Regions from separate parts of the Homo sapiens genome. Here all the other regions are linked to region 1. The links are contacts of gene promoters, found by promoter capture Hi-C in blood cells and fetal thymus (Javierre and others, 2016). All regions are on one chromosome and are shown on one strand. Each heading gives the region's core, a stretch centred on a gene start or on the middle of the fragment in contact. The rest is flanking DNA. Distances are from core to core; before and after follow the strand shown. Region 1 holds the start of JPH1 (junctophilin 1). Region 2 has its middle 120 kb from the start of LY96. Region 3 has its middle 92 kb from the start of LY96.

What was found. The method cuts DNA at HindIII sites, captures the fragments that hold promoters and counts their contacts. A CHiCAGO score of 5 or more calls a contact.
Region 2: a contact is called between a fragment that was not itself captured here and the fragment with the promoter of JPH1 in region 1, in 1 of 17 cell types (endothelial precursors). The highest score is 5.7, in endothelial precursors.
Region 3: a contact is called between a fragment that was not itself captured here and the fragment with the promoter of JPH1 in region 1, in 1 of 17 cell types (endothelial precursors). The highest score is 6.5, in endothelial precursors.

Annotation. Positions count from the first base shown.
Region 1 is chr8:74,320,102-74,323,521 of GRCh38, forward strand. JPH1 (junctophilin 1) reads right to left here and starts at 1,439. Exons shown (of 6, transcript NM_020647.4): 1 at 808-1,439. The coding sequence starts at 1,186. RefSeq lists an enhancer at 506-1,396 and a silencer at 1,490-1,589. The HindIII fragment of the contact is 5,373 bases long and covers 1-3,420 here.
Region 2 is chr8:74,108,351-74,111,670 of GRCh38, forward strand. No RefSeq gene overlaps it. Among named protein-coding and RNA genes, the nearest start is that of LY96, 120 kb to the left of the region's middle. The HindIII fragment of the contact is 1,516 bases long and covers 1,224-2,739 here.
Region 3 is chr8:74,082,075-74,085,635 of GRCh38, forward strand. It overlaps a transcript of LY96 not described here. Among named protein-coding and RNA genes, the nearest start is that of LY96, 92 kb to the left of the region's middle. The HindIII fragment of the contact is 1,464 bases long and covers 1,533-2,996 here.

The DNA of each region.
Region 1 (3,420 bases), core at 189-2,688:
AGCAGCTATAGGAACACACCTGCTAATTGTATTCTTTAAAATGTAGACTTCATTACCCATTTCTAAAATATCTTCCTAGTAATTTGTCCAAGATCTCCAGGTCAGCAAAGACTGCTACTCTTTTAAGACCAATACTTTAAGAAACGGAATGAAAACTAGGAACTCACACACTCTGAACTCCACCTGCATCAGGTGGCCTTTCTGCTCCCATAACTAGGACGTTTCCAAATGCACCCCCAAATAAGGTACAATTCCCCAACATCCTAGTTACGGGGTTCTGGCTTCTATCTTTAGGCTACTGGAGGACCAGAAGCGAAATACGACTCCACGTGAAACCAATCCCGGGAGCGGTCAGCACGGACCGCCAACCTCACCCGCTCAGGGTGTTCGCTCTAACTCCACGGGAGTGGCGATTTCAAACCCGGCCGGGAGAGGGAGGGATCAGGAACGTAATGTGACGGGCTCAAGTGACAGCGTCCTCTCTCCAGCCCAACCCTCCCGGGCGGCGCTCCCTCCCGGTGGCAGCGCAGCGCTGGCGCCGGCCAGGTACATTCACGCCTAGCTCCCCTGAGTGTGGATACACGGCCCGCTCCAAGAACGGGGTCAGATCCAGCCCTCGCGCCCCAGTCCGGTCCCAGCGCCCTCTCTGGGAAAGGCGGGCGCGGGCGCGGGGGTGGGAGGCGCCCCCAGGTGTTTTGGCGGGTTTCCGGACACGTGCGCCCGGCGTCCTCCCCGCTTCCCCGCAGCCGGGGCAGAGCCCACCGCACCAGCTCGCGGAGCAGCCGAGCCGCCCGTTACGCCGCTCACCTCCGTCCCCGTAGGTCTCCACGCCGTACCCGTCTTGCAGCCCGTTACTCCAGGTACCCTCGTAGCGAGCGGGGGTGCACAGGCTCTGCCGGACCCCGTAGCGCCCCTTGAAACCATGTGACCACTCCCCCCGGTACATCCACTTGCCCTTCGTCTCCACCCCCAGCCCGTGCCGCTTGCCCTGCGCCCAGTAGCCCTGGTAGGTGTTGCCGCTGGGCCAGGTGTAGCCTCCGACCACCTCGAAGCCGTGCGACCAGGAGCCCGAGTACTCGCCCTGGCCCTTGGGCCCCGTGCAGATGCCATGCCCGTGCGCCTTGCCCTCCTCCCAGCCGCCGCAGTAGGTGCCGCCATCGTCGAAGTCGAACCTTCCGCCCGTCATTCGGGGGGCAGCCCCGGCGCGCTCCCCGCAGGGGCACGGACGCGGGCAGTGCTGGGCACGGCAGGGTGTAGCTCGGGGGTGGGGGCCCGGCGGGCGAGCTCACGACAGCGCCCTGGGCAGCTCGCGCTGCCGCTCGGCTCCAGTCCGACGCCGCCCCCGTCCTCCCTCCTCTTTTGCCGCCGCCACCGCCGCCTTCCTCCTCCTCCTCCTCCTCCTTCGCCGCCGCCGCCTGGGCCAGCGCCGCGCGCGAGAGGACAGCCCAGGTTCCCGAGCGGACCTTCAGCTGCTCCCGCCCGCCCACGTGAGCCGGGCACCGCCCCGCGCCCGCCCCTCGTCCCCTCCCCGGGCGCCGAGGCCCGGCCCCGCGGCGCTCCCGCCCCACCGGGCCCTGCCCCCAGCCCCGGGAGCCGCCGCTTCCTCGGCAGGCGGGCGCGCGCGGGGACCGGCTGGCGCGCATGTGTTCGCGCAGTGGGATGCCGGTGGGAGGGCGAGTGTACCCGGGGACGCACGAGAATCCCTGCCTGGAGATGAAGGCGCGGCTGCCTGTGTGGGGGCCGCTCGCGGGCGCCGGAGCCCCCGGTGTTTGTGTTTGGGGTTTTTCAAAGTGGTTAAGCTCCTGTGAGTGCGGCCACGTGTGTGTTGAGGGAAAACTCATTGTATGCGTGTTTGTCTGCATGGGGTTTGTAGTTGCATTGTTTTCGCATTCCAACTTGTGTACTGTTGCATTTGTCATGCTCAGCTGTCATCGTGAATTAATATCGCCTAGATATATGTATGCATGTGATGTAAATCTGCGGCAGCCTAGATATAATTGTGCAGAGTGTTCTTTTACACCTACCCGTTTCAAAGCACACGTGTTTGCATTTATTTAATGAAGACACTGAGGGTGAGCAGTACAGTTTGAAAAAGCACAGAATATATTGGTTAGTTTTTTATTAATAGTGATGAAGAGGATGTTTTCAATCGGCCTTTGCAGTGGTACAGGATATTCCTTTTACATTAGAGCCTGCCCCCTCTCGTGCCTCGTTTGTGCTTCTTAACAGCCTTAGAGATTCTTGAGCCTGGAGCTGTGTGCCCAACAGGTAGACGGCTCGGTCTGTGTACATTGTATAAGTGTCTGGAATGCACACCTCTCCACTGGTATCCACTGTTTAAGAAAGTAAATAGAGGTTTGCAAGGAGGAATATGGTAAGTAAAGCACTGCTCTAAACTTGCAAAGAAACTGTGACCTACAAAACCAGGGACAGATGTCAGCTGGTCTACTTTCTAGCTACAACACTGCTTTGTCGAATTCACTTTAGGCAACTCTTCTAAACTTTTAAACCTCCATTTCACCATCTTCTGAATGGGACTAACAAGATTTGCCTTTCTCTTTCTATATTCGGTAATAACTGAGTATATTGTGGCTGCAGTGCCAAACCAAAAATTAGAGATTTGGTAATAGGCAAGTTGGATCAGCATTGCCTCTGGTGAGAGAAAGCATTATTCTCCACCTCACCCTCAAAATACCCACGGGAGAAACTTCTCCCACTTTCACAGCCTAGGGTCTTAGTTTGGCCTCTCAAGGAAACTGATTTGGAGTGTATTCCTGCTATTTCTTAGGCTGAGAGGCCTTTGGGTGACTATGCGAGCATCAGAAGCTGCCAAAGGTTCTCTCACTAAGTATTTGATAATCAGATATAGATATAAGGACAGGTGTCAGGAAGACAGCCTGGGAAAAAGTAGACTAAACTGCACAGAAAAGGAACTGAAATTGACCTTGATTGCCTCTCTCTCAGGACGAGAGCCGACCTTTCCTACTTATCTGGCTGAAAGACTGAAAGAAAAATCTCAGTTTATGCAGAACCAAATCACCAAAGAGAATTAGAAGCCCTCATCCATGGCACTGCCCGCAGAGTTGCCAGGAATAGTGCTTACCCTAGTGGCCTGAAATAATTATGCATCTCTCGAAGCATCTTGTCCTGGACTGGGGATTGATTTAGGCCGCTGGGAAGATGAGGGCCAGGGCTTTGCGGCTGAGCCATAATTCCATTTCCCTGTTATGGGATACACCAGAATCAGGAGCTAATGTAGAAAGATGCATTCCCATATATTTTGAGGTTCTGTATGATATGAGAAAAAGTGTGGTTGCTCAAGCCAATATTTTGAATGGGGGAGTCTCTTTCTAAACTAGACTTCCTCATAGAGTAGTCTTTGTCCCTTTGCCTTTTTTTTTTTTTTGGATCCACCCAGTG
Region 2 (3,320 bases), core at 732-3,231, 210 kb before region 1:
GCTCACTGCAGTCTCTGCCTCCCAAGTAGCTAGGACTACAGGCCACCAACACACGGCTAATTCTTTTTTTTTTTTTTGTATTTTTGTAGTGATGGGGTTTCGCTGTGTAGCCCAGGCTGATCTCGAACTCCTGAGCTCAAACGATCCATCTACTGTGGCCTGCCAAAGTGCTGGAATTACAGGTGTGAGCCACCGCATCCGGCCTAAAACAAATATATACTTTGACTCTAGGCAGTACATTAGTGATTTCTCTACCTGTATGTAGAGATAAAACAAAAAAGCAGATTCGAAAATTCAATACTTATATCTTAATCCAAACAACACTTCTGTATTTGAGAAAGGAAAGTCCAGGCTAAATGGATGTCTCAGAGAGATTCAAAGCTGAAGGTTTTGCAGACACCACACCTAAGTGGGTGTTTAATCCAGAAGCGTTAGGAGAAGAATGCCAATTGACAGGACTGCCATGAGATTCCATAGGGACAGTAAACATCCATTGTGATAGCCTGAAGCCAAAACACATGCCATCAGCAGGCAGCTGAATCCACAAATCCAGCTGCATCTGGCTGCTGGGAAGCATTTCACATCATCTTTGCCGGCAAGAGCTCAAACTCACTAGATTTAAATGAAAACTACTGATAGGAAATGCAGAGAACTCATGAAGGAATGTGTTCGGTAGAAACTTAAGTGCAAAGCTCTAAATGTTTTGTTTCTAGGGATCGATGAGAAGGCTTAAGGATCTAAAATCTGGGCATTTTAGATCTGCTTAGTACAGGAATAATTTGCGGCCTCAGGTTTAGAGTCATGTTTGAAAAACTGGCCCCTGGATTGCAGGAAAACAAAAAACAATATAGCCATTTGGTATGACTTGTTATAAAACTTAGCTGGTGGTTTTTAAAAATAGTTCCAAACCAAATTAGCTCTGGGCACCTGCTGGAGCTTAGTATGTTTTCAGATAGACTTGTTTGCTGTCAGCCAAAAAAAAAAAAAAAAAAATCCAACCCAACAAAACCTTCCACCCACATGGTTTGTTATAAAACCTGACATTACTAATGCTTTTCCAAGCCACTTTTCTTAGATCAAATCATTCAAATAAAAAAACATGGCATCTGACATCTTGAAAGAATGGGGCAAATTATTTGCTGTTAGATAACAGTTTCAGAAAGTCATGGGAAGAAGAAAGGTAGGAAATGTTAGAAAATACAATGTATTAATCACTGTGTGAAAGCTTTTCTAATTCTTCATGTGACTTCATTCCAACACGGATATTATAATATGGCCGGAATGTTGGGATTTATGGTTCTATAGGATAGGCCCCTTAAACCATCTGTTATTGCAATGTTTACCCAAGATGTGCGTGGATATAGCTGTTTCAAGTGATTTGGACATTTTGTTTATGTGACAGAAAAGATATAATTGATATTTAAATGAATAATGGCAACAATGACAGCAACCAAAGTGGCAAAAATCATTTTCTGGAGATTTTATTTTTTAGGCAATATTGAAAGCTGTCCATTGCTCACAGAGTATGTTAAGACTTGGATCAACATTAACAAATGAAAACCTCATTTCTGCAGTGCTCTGAGGGTTATTTAGGTTTCACAGATCTTATTTAAATTCTGATCTGTAGCAGTTCTCTGACTGCAGTTGGGAAAGAATCCTGTTTAATTATACATATGTTTTATATAGTAAAATGGCTTCAAAAAGCCTCTCTTACCATCACTAGTCTACATATCATTGAATAAAATACTACTGACTCACTAGTGATTCACCCTGCCTTCCTGAATAACTTTGAATAATTTAACTTCCTAACCACTGCAGGTTCTTGAAATCAAATTGGTATCTTAGAAGTCCGGATAGGAGTAATTATAATAATAATGGCAAGGATATTGATGACTACTATTTTTATTGTTACTACTACTTACTAAATGCCTGGTACTAAAATAGACACTTTATATGCATTTTTGATATACCTGATAACAGTCCCATAAAAGTTATTATTAGCCCATTTTATAAATGGGGAAACAGGATCTTAGAGTTTGCACAGCTTAAAAAAATGGAAATATTGGAATCTGAATCCAAAACAGCCTGACTCAAAACAATGTTCTTTCCATTATGCAAGGGAAAAAAAAAAAGGTTGAGTATCAGAGAGAAGGTAATAGGAGACATTTTCTCCAGGGAGTGACCCATAAGATGGCAAATGTGCTTTGCTCCCCATTAGAGGGTTCTGGAACCCCAGACATAAATATGATATAGAAACACTCTAATTAGCTCTAAATGAGGAGATGCGGGTCAAAACTTGCAGAAATTCTCTAGGCACTCTTCTTAACAGGTGTGGTTTAAATTAACCCAGACAAGCACAGTAAGAAAAGCTGCCTTATTTGTTGCTGAAAGGCCTGGTCAGATACAATCATTAAAGTGTGTGAGTTCTCTATTGAGTAATCCACTTTTGCTATGGAAATCTTAAAATAAACTCTTCTTTATGAATGTGAAGGCTCACTAATTCTCCTTTCACTAAACCTCAAACCCTGTAATTTTTACTAAGTATCCGAGAGTCTCACAAATGCTAATACCAGAGCATTTTAGTCTATCACAAAGATTTTGTTTTAAATTACCGTTGAAAAAAAATCAGATTCAGCATTTCCTATAAGTAATTGAAATGAAACTGGATTTCCCAAATAAAGGAAAGTATTTTAGTGGAGTTAATCCTTGATTTGTCTTATTGACAGCAATTTTTACTTAAGCTTTTGGCATTATTTTTCTGCACTGTTTTTTAAGGTTTAAGATGGGATTAAAGCATACATGGCATTGCTATTTATGTATTTAATTGTTTATCTCAGAGTATTTAGATCTCGGTTTAGCAACCTAAACCAATTATTTATTGGTCTTGTACTTTTTTTTTTTTTTTTTAAATAGAAAGGGCTCAAGCTTTGTATGAGTCCTTGTACACTTCAGGTGACCAAATCAGAACACCTGAAAAATTTGGTCGGCTTCATTTGCCACCACTTATTTACACAGCTGAGTCATGTATTAAGAATTTGAAAGCATCTCCCATTACTGCTTGTGTAGACTAAGTTAGTCCTCAATGAATTGGACCAGGGTTGAAAATAATCCTATTGTGATCCGTCTGAGGTTATGTAGGCTTGGCTAAAAATACCCTGCTACATCCTTACAGAAAATTAAAAAACGGTAAAGATGATGTAAGTAAACAACTGAATAGCAATGCATTTATCTCATGATAAATGTAATCAGAAGACCTCTACTAGCTGAAGTCTTTCTTTAACATCTCCAAGCTAATATGGACTTTCTCTTTTAAATTTTGC
Region 3 (3,561 bases), core at 1,015-3,514, 240 kb before region 1:
CCTTAATCTACAGTCCTATTTTTTGTGCTCCTCCTTATCCAGTTGTCCACAATGCTGCTATATGCCAGGCTTGTGCTAGGATCTGGGAACAGAGATGAATAAAACATGGTCCCTCAGTCTTCAGCAGCTCATAAAGAACTGGGAAAAACAGAGTTGCAAGGAACTCACAGTGAGTGACTCTTTCTTTATCTTCTTTCTGGATTTTGGTTTTCATGCAATTGCACCATTTTTCTTCTGGTTGAGCATGTTCCTAGATTGGACTTAGATTGTATAGGTTATCAATAAATACTGGCCATCCTCATGACTGTGGTCATGTCCACGTAAAGGCTTTCAAATGCTTCCAACTCATGGAGCCCTTGCCTACCAGTGCAATGTGTGCAGGTAACAGAAACTTAAGAAAAATTTTGAAGTTATTTAAACACTTTTCTGATTTTATTTTAGTTTTTATTATTGTATTGTTATTTAAAAAAACCCCAAACACCTGCAGGGGCGGAAAGATTTCCTTTTCTCACCCATCGTAGGTTCATAGCTGAGGCTCCTATAACAAAATAAGATTAACAAGCAAAAGGCATACACATTTATTTGATATAAGTTTTATATGAAGGGGAGACTTCTTAAGGAAATGAAGATTCAAGTAAACAGGTGCACTTGTGTATTGCTATGCTTAGGTTTGATGGAGCATGGACCGTCATGGCGAAATATGACTGGAGGGCAGAAGGATGTGACTGAATGATAATAAGCTAGGGGGAAACTTAGCAAGGCCTGTTTGTTCAGGTTCCTCTCTGTGTCCCTGTGTCTTCAGAGGTAAGGATGTTCCTTTCACCCCAGGTATAGGAAGGGTACTTTTCAAATGAGGGATTTGTGATCTGCTTCAGGGGAGAAGGCTGAGGGAAAGGTGAGAGAGGACTTCCTGCTTCTGTTGTTTTCTCAAATGCCAAGGTGTCATATTTTGGGGTAGTGTGTCCTGAACCCATTTTCCCCGTCCCCCTGCTGGATTAATTTGAAGTAAGTTCCAGGTATTATACAGATGTTTATATGTATCTATATATGTAAATATATATCTATAAATACACATATCATAAATGCAAATATGTGTAAATATTCCAGCATATATCTCTGAAAGTTAAGGACTCTTTATTTTTTAATTTTTATTTTTTTGAGACGTAGTCTTGTTCTGTTGCCCAGGCTGGAGTGCAGTGGCATGGTCTCAGCTCACTGCAACCTCCACCTCCCCAGTTCAAGCAATTCTCATGCCTCAGCCTCCCAAGTAGCTGAGATTACAGGCGCCCGCCACCACACCTGGCTAATTTTTTGTATTTTTAGTAGAGATGGGGTTTCACCATGTTGGCCAGGTTGGTCTCGAACTCCTGACCTTGTGATCCACCTGCCTTGGCCTCCCAGAGTGCTGAGATTACAGGCATAAGCCATGACTCTTTAAAAAGTAACTGTAATATGATGACCACACCTAAAAAATTATTGGCAATTCCTTAATATTATCAGATATCCAGTCACATTTCACTGATTTTATTATAAGCTTTTACTTTTATAGTTGGTTTGTCTGAATCAGGATTTTTGATAGGTGCCTATGTTGTGATTGGTTGGGATACCACTTAAATCTTTTCTTTCTTTTTTTTGAGACAAGGTCTTGCTGTGTCACCCAGGGTGAAGTGCAGTGGCAAAAATCACTGCTCACTGCAGCCTTGACCTCTCGGGCTGGAGTGATCCTCCTGCCTTAGCCTCCTGAGTAGCTGGGACCACAGGCATGTGCCCCCATGCCTGGCTAATTTTTTTTTTTAGAGATGGGGTCTCACTATGTTGTCGAGGCTTGTCTAGAATTCCTGGGCTCAAATGATCCTTCCACCTTGGCCTCCCAAAGTGCTGAGATTACAGGCGTGAGCCACTGTGTCCAGCCAAAACTTTTCTAATCTACAGGTTTCCCCTCATGCTCTTTTTTTTTTTTTGTTTCGTTGCAATTTATTTGTTGAAGAAACTGGATGTTTTCTCCAGTAGAGTTTCCCATAGTCTGGATTTTGCTGATTGCTTCCTCGTGATGTTTAACCTGTTCCTCTGTTCTCTGTATTGCTATCAAAATGATAGTTAGATGTAAACATTTAGCTTGAGTTTAGGGCAGAAATATCTCATAGGTGGTAGTGTGTGTACTTCTATCTGGAGACACAAAATGCTGAGTTCTCTCTCCTTCTATGATGTGAGCAGTCCTGATGCACGGATTAACTCAGTCCCTTAGCTCATTAGAGGTTGCTCAGTGGTAATACTCCAGTTCTATCTTTGCTTCCTACGCCTTAGCCAGAATACTGGTCTGGAAGAGAAACTTCTCTTATAAGCATTTGTAACTCTGAAGTGCAGTTTGTACAGGAAAGTCAGAATTAATGCTGGCTTCTTTCCCTTTATTAATAGTTTTTAAGGAATTTAAACACTGAAGACTTCAGAGATTGTACCCCTTCTTCCCCAACTAGTTTTCTCCTCTTTCCTCTGGCCGCATCTGTAATCCGGAATCTTGGTCTGTCTTTCAATCTCTCTCTCTCTTTTTTCTTTTTTTGAGATAGAGTCTCGCTCTGTTGCCCAGGCTGGAGTACAGTGGCACAATCTCGGCTCACTGCAACTTCTGCCTCCCAGATTCAAGCGATTCTCCTGCCTCAGCCTCCCGAGTAGCTGGGATTACAGGCGCCTGCCACCACGCCCGGCTAATTTTTTGTATTTTTAGTAGAGATGGGGTTTCACCATGTTGGCCAGGCTGGTCTCAAACTCCTGACCTCAAGTGATCCGCCTGCCTTGACCTCCCAAAGTGCTGGGATTACAGGCGTGAGCCACCGCACCCAGCCCTCTCTTTCTCTTAAATTCAACTTTGTAGAGCTTTGGAGAAAGAATTGCAGACTCATTCACACTAAAGTACAAATGACAAATAACAGGTTACGGTGTGATTACTCCAGATAGACTTTCTGTTTAACTTCCATCAACATGTTAAATGAGAGAAATGAAGCTTCTTGGATAAGAATAACATTTGTATGCAGCTACTATTATATGCCAGCTGCGGCAGTAAATGATTTATGTGTGTTGTCTCACAAAATGCCTACAACAACCCTGTGAGTAAGATAGTCTATGTTATTCCCATTTTACAGATGTGGAAACAAAGCTCAGGTTGTTTCAATAACTTGCCAACTAAAAGGTGACAGAGCTGAAACTAAAACCTATGATTGTCTGGTTTCAAAGCCAGACATCTTATTCTGGAATCACAGAGGAATCACATCCTTTTCTGCCTTCTTGGTATAGTTTCAGACATCTTGAACAAGGAGAAAAGGCTTTAGGGGAGAGGATGGCTTCCCAAGGTTGAAATCTTCCACTAGACAGACCCAAGTTACTCATTGTGTCAGTGTGTACAGAAGAGCCTGCCAATCACCCACGAAACCAAAGATTTGTCACCGGAGTGTCATTGTTGAAAATAGTTCTCTGCCACTGCAGCAATAGTGATGCCTTTGCCGCAGCCAGCTCCTTTCTGCTTTTCCAACTCTGCCTTCCTCTTGTTCACTTGTTCCAGTCACACTG